2 separate regions of the Homo sapiens genome follow, and region 1 is linked to region 2. The links are contacts of gene promoters, found by promoter capture Hi-C in blood cells and fetal thymus (Javierre and others, 2016). All regions are on one chromosome and are shown on one strand. Each heading gives the region's core, a stretch centred on a gene start or on the middle of the fragment in contact. The rest is flanking DNA. Distances are from core to core; before and after follow the strand shown. Region 1 overlaps RPP30 (ribonuclease P/MRP subunit p30). Region 2 holds the start of HECTD2 (HECT domain E3 ubiquitin protein ligase 2).

Region 1 (2,700 bases), core at 15-2,514, 510 kb before region 2:
ACATGTAAGGGGTCAGTAGTAGGGAGTGAGGAGGGATGTGAAGAGAGAATCAGTGAAAATGAAGTAGGCCAGTGCATGCTTATCTCTGACAGTTCTCTTTATTTCCTGTGAAGGCGATTGACCGAGGCCTGGCTTTTGAACTTGTCTATAGCCCTGCTATCAAAGACTCCACAATGAGAAGGTATACAATTTCCAGTGCCCTCAATTTGATGCAAATCTGCAAAGGAAAGGTATGGTTCTATAATTTTAGGATGTTTTTCGCATCTGGCAGTTTATTATTAGTAGTACACTGGAATTGTCAAACTGACTCCTTTTCCTTAAAGCAGAATGTTCTCATAGCATAGGAACAAATTCTGCCATTTCAGTGAGCTCTGCAAATTTTAAGGGAAAGAAAAATACCAAGGGAAGAATAATGTAAGGGAGAAAAAGATGTGTTGGAAGCCATATCTTTTGATAAAAATTTGCAATTTACATACTGTGAAAGAAAAGTCTAGAATAACAATGGTCCTCACTGAGTTGAATTAAGATATGTGACCTTTTCATCTTGTTTTTTAAACTTAATTCACCTTTACTAAGATCTGTTAGGAAAACATATTTTGTTTTTTATTACAGATTGCCTTTAGTTTGACATGAAGTCTTTTCATTTTTTTCACCTTAATTATTTACCTTATCTTTAAAAGAAGTTGGTATTTGAGCCTTAAATGTTAAAATATGATTACTGGCTATTTATATTATGAAACTCCTTTTTTTACATTTATCTAAGATTAATATTAGTCACTTTCTATTTTGTAGAATGTAATTATATCTAGTGCTGCAGAAAGGGTAAGTCTAGCATGAAGTACTTTGTTTTCATCTTTCAGGTTATAAAACTTTTCAGTTTCTAGGGGATAAATTAAAATAGTAAATGAATATTTGTTGCATTTTTTTCTATTTTAACTGCATTTGCTCATTGTAATTGCTAAATAGTAAAATTTATCCCCACTTTCTTTAGGCTTCAACTTTTGTTTATATAATCAGTTTTTCTTTTATACTGTTACAAAATGCCTTTCAAGCTTCTCTTATATTTTCAAAAGCTATGAAACCCATCAAAATTATAAGGACTTAAATTTATGTAATTTTTTTATTTTTGGATACTTAAATTTTCTATTAATTTGCTATAAGTCATTGAAATGTTATAAATAATTTTCTCATATCTACTCTTTGTTCATTTTATTTCAGCCTTTAGAAATAAGAGGGCCATATGACGTGGCAAATCTGTATCCTTTTCTGAGTAAAAAGTTGTTGACATTGTCTTTCAGGAAATTTTGAATTTGAAGTCGTATTATAGTTGAACATGTATTTTTCTCAACCTTTTACTGTAAGTTTACCAATTAATAACTTCAAAAATAAATTATATAACATTATAGAGAGCTTTATGCTTCTGTTTTTTAATTAATCATGAGATAGAAAAGAGGGAATGAGGGACTTCATATGATAAAAGCTTAGAGTTAAATGAGTCTTTTCTCAGATGCATGTTCCAGTTGGACTAAGAACTGCTGTTGAATTAATTAGCCTCTCAAGATGACCAGGTTAGCTGGCACTTTCTGTTATGTTTGTGTTAGTCTCGTGTCCTTGGGTGACTCTGGGTTGAAATCTTTAATGCTCCCCCAAGAGGCTTGCTGTTTGGGCTCTCTGAAAGTGACGCCAAGGCTGCGGTGTCCACCAACTGCCGAGCAGCGCTTCTCCATGGAGGTAAGCAAGTTCTTCCAGTACAAACTGAATGGTCATGTTAAAAGCAAGTCATTTTTACAGCCATACCTATTTTTATTGCCCTACCCTACAGAGTTCCTTTGGGATCATCTTTTCTCAACCTGTTCTAAACACAGTCATCAGTGTTTTCTCACCCTCACTTCAGGCTTTACTTTCTAAAGTTTGTAGAATGAATATAGTTTTCATTACAGAAATAAGTATTGAATAGTTCTTCCAGCTATACATGTGTGCTCCTGCCGACATTTTGATAGGCTTCTAATCTCCCTTCCTTCTTCTCCCTCACCAGAAGGCCATGCTTTCCCTGTTGAAAATCTCTGTTTTAGAGAACGGATATGTTAAAAATATGTGTTAAACTATTTATTAGGAAAACAAAACCAGCAAATACATTTTTAAAAATCCAACTAACAAAACATAGACTGTAACTTTTACATTTATTATAACTCAGAATGTTTCTTTTCTCATGTTTGCTTACATGGTCAAGTTGTGTCCAGACTGTACCTTTTTTATTTTTTTTTCTTTTTCTAAATAGAGACAGAGTCTCACTATGTTGCCCAGGCTGGTCTTGAACTCCTGGGCTCAAGCAATCCTCCTACCTCAGCCTCCCAAAGTGCTAGGATTACAGACATGAGCCACCATGCCCGGCCAGACTGTACATTTTTTACTCACATTTTGTATATGTACCTTTTCACTGACTGAGTTTCCTGCTCATCAGATGTTAAAAATTGAAAGTATGCTGAAACTTTGGAAAATGAAAGTGAAATTTTATTAAAACAATTTAAGCTTTTGATCACTGTTTTGTCTTCGTTATCTTTATAATTCTTAGGACTAGTTGTAGTGGTTAAGAAGCAATTTCATTGATATCACCCAAGTGAATTTTAAACTTCAAAGTAGATTGCTACATATAGACTGAGTTATTTGTCATATGAATAGCTAGGTTATTGAGGGCTTGTG
Region 2 (2,700 bases), core at 109-2,608:
TTATACTAATAACTCCAAATTATGTAAACAATAGATACCCCGAAATCATATTTGGGTTTGTTTCAGAGATATTTTTGGTTCTTATATTTGGACTTAGGTACTCTTGATCTAAAAATTCACTCAACCTCCAATAAAATAATGAAGGCACAGATAAAAAATCTGATAGAGCTGAATATCGAAATTCCTTGCTTTTAACAGGCGATACAGCGCATTCTTACTCTCTTTTCTCCTAGATCAGCAGGTGTCCCCGCCGCTCCAGTAGACTGAGAAAAAGGAAAAGGAGGGGGCGACAAGAAAGGAAAGGAAATTGTCTAGGTGTCCTGGTGGTGGAGGTGGGGGGTATTTTAATTTCATAATTAAAAGCTCTCTTCTTCGGCTTTCAAGTTTTTACTCCTATTTGTAATGATTTGATTGAGGACTGTGCAGCAGAGTTTGGGTATGTACATCTCTAACATAAACGGAAAGGAACAAGGAAGGGACGGATAGGAGACAGCAAAGGGTTGCGGGGAGAGAGCAAAACGTAGGCGCGTGGGGACGGGAAGGGAGAGGCGGATTTGGCAGTCAAAGAGGGACGAGAGGAACAGGAATGGAAAGTGTGGACTGGCCGTCCAATCCTATGGGGGAAGGGGAAAGGGGGGGCCCACCACGTCGCACTCCTCCCCACCTCCAGGCTTTTCCTGTGTAGGCTGAAGCCATCCAGGCGTGTACAAAAGAGTCGGTTGCTGAGCCAGGAAGGCTGTCTCCCCGGGCTGCGCAAGCTCCGGGCCGCCTCTCCTGGGCTCAGGAGGGCGGGCAAGGATAAGAAGGCAGAAGCCCCAAGGCGGACAGCTTTGTGGGCGCCTGGAAGAAGGCGAAAGGCCACCAGCCCAGACCCCGAGGGCGCTTGCCCGCGGGACTCGGCGCCGCAGGCCAGGGCCGTCCGTGAAGGGTAGTCTGTGCCTACGTCCTGCCCTACTGGTACCACTCGGACACTCTATCCCCGTCCGACCCTTTGCAGGGCTCGACTTGTCTCCCCGACTGCCCGTCCTTAGTCCAGGTTCTCCTGCGCGGCCCGGGTGCGGGGTCTCCTCGTCATCTCGGGCGACACTCTGCAAACAATATGGCGGTCGGGCGTCGACCGTGGCGCCTTCTCTCCGGGCCCTCGGGGTTGACGAGGGGGACTACCGCCGGCGCTCCCGACCCGCGACGCGCGAGCCCCGGGCGGGCGGGGGAGGCGAGAGCAAGAAACCTGTGGGACCTGTGGGGAGCCGCGTCCGCGGGGCTGGCGCGCGCGGGGGCGGCCTCGGGCTCGCGCGCAAAGGCGCGGGCGCGGGCGGGGGCGGAGTGGCGGCGGCAGCGGCGGCTAGAAGCGGCAGCCCAGAGCCCTCTCGCGGCCGCGGCGGCAGCAGCAGCGCCAGCCCCAGCAACACTGAGGCCGCCGCCGCCGCCTGGCGCTCCCGCCGCCCGGCCCGACATGAGTGAGGCGGTTCGGGTACCCTCGCCCGCCACTCCGCTGGTGGTGGCGGCGCCCGCGCCTGAGGAGAGGAAAGGGAAGGAGTCAGAGCGCGAGAAGCTGCCGCCCATCGTATCGGCGGGCGCCGGCGCGACCGCGGTAGGTGGTGGGCCGGGGCCGTCTGGCGCCCCGGACGGCGGGAGTTGGGAGGGACGGCGGCCGGGCGAGGGCCGTCAGGAGGCCTGCGTTTACCCTGGGCACGCCCTGGCACTCCAGGGAGACGCACTCAGGCCGCCCTTCCTTGGGCAGAAATAAAAGAGTTGTGCCTCGTGGACAGCCCCGAACACTTCGCGAGGTACACCTACCACCCTCGGGAAATGTTGGGGGTGGTCGGTTCCGCTGGATGTTTGGGTTATTTTCTGGGGCTTGGGCCCCCACTTTCTCTAAGAGAATGACCTGCATCTTGAGTCGGCATGATCTGTTGGATGAGCATAGGTGTCAGCAGGCGGGAGTGGGTTTTCCACGGAGGTGCCTGCCTGCCTGCCTGCCTTGGAGGCGCGCAGATTTTTGTCCTTTTCTTCGCTTTTCTTTCCCTTCCCCCTTCAGATTAAACAGGCTCTGCGGCGAGTTTCCACTTAATTGTGACCTTTCCGTTGCTGTCAGTGTAGTGGGAGGTAGATGCATCAGTGATGGTTTTATTTTTCATATGGTACAGACATGTGACTCAGGTGGGGGGAGGCTTTTTGAACCTTTTATTTAAACCCAAGTTATCTAAGCTTGACAGGGATGATTTCCCAGCTGTATCTTCGTAAGGGTTATTTGGAGAGCGCTGTCAGGCTTCAAACTACATATTGCCAGATGATGTCATGGGACAGCCCCCTCCCCCTCTTTCCCTATTTTTACTGGTGGTTGTGACTGGTTAATTTGAAGCACAATTTAAAAAAAAACCTCGGATTTTGCAATTTTTTATTTTGACATAATATTTAAGTACTTTTTGAAAGTTTGCTTTGATATATTTAAAGATCATGACTTGTCATGCAGCTGTGTGTGACAAAATAGTAAAAGTTTAGTGAACATTATACATTTTCTTTATTCCTACTTGCGGTTCATTTCTTAAAACCTCCCTCTTAAATGACTAAGAACTTACTAAAATAGCTCACTCTTCGTTAAGTACTGTATTGGTGTTAGGAATAATTTTCGGATTCGGTAGGTTTTTCAAAAATGTCTGAGGGCCCTGATAACTGGAAATTGTTAAAACAAGCTCTTTA

Evidence for each region. Contacts are between HindIII fragments. The CHiCAGO score rates a contact against its expected background, and 5 or more counts as called.
Region 1: a contact is called between a fragment that was not itself captured here and the fragment with the promoter of HECTD2 in region 2, in 1 of 17 cell types (erythroblasts). The highest score is 5.1, in erythroblasts.

The regions. Positions count from the first base shown.
Region 1 is chr10:90,894,662-90,897,361 of GRCh38, forward strand. RPP30 (ribonuclease P/MRP subunit p30) reads left to right here. Exons shown (of 11, transcript NM_006413.5): 7 at 114-230; 8 at 793-822; 9 at 1,219-1,256; 10 at 1,652-1,731. Among named protein-coding and RNA genes, the nearest start is that of RPP30, 24 kb to the left of the region's middle. The HindIII fragment of the contact is 428 bases long and covers 1,051-1,478 here.
Region 2 is chr10:91,408,986-91,411,685 of GRCh38, forward strand. HECTD2 (HECT domain E3 ubiquitin protein ligase 2) reads left to right here and starts at 1,359. Exons shown (of 21, transcript NM_182765.6): 1 at 1,359-1,591. The coding sequence starts at 1,454. All of the region lies in intron 3 of HECTD2-AS1 (HECTD2 antisense RNA 1), which reads right to left. RefSeq lists an enhancer at 766-975 and a silencer at 1,126-1,715. The HindIII fragment of the contact is 4,522 bases long and covers 1-2,206 here.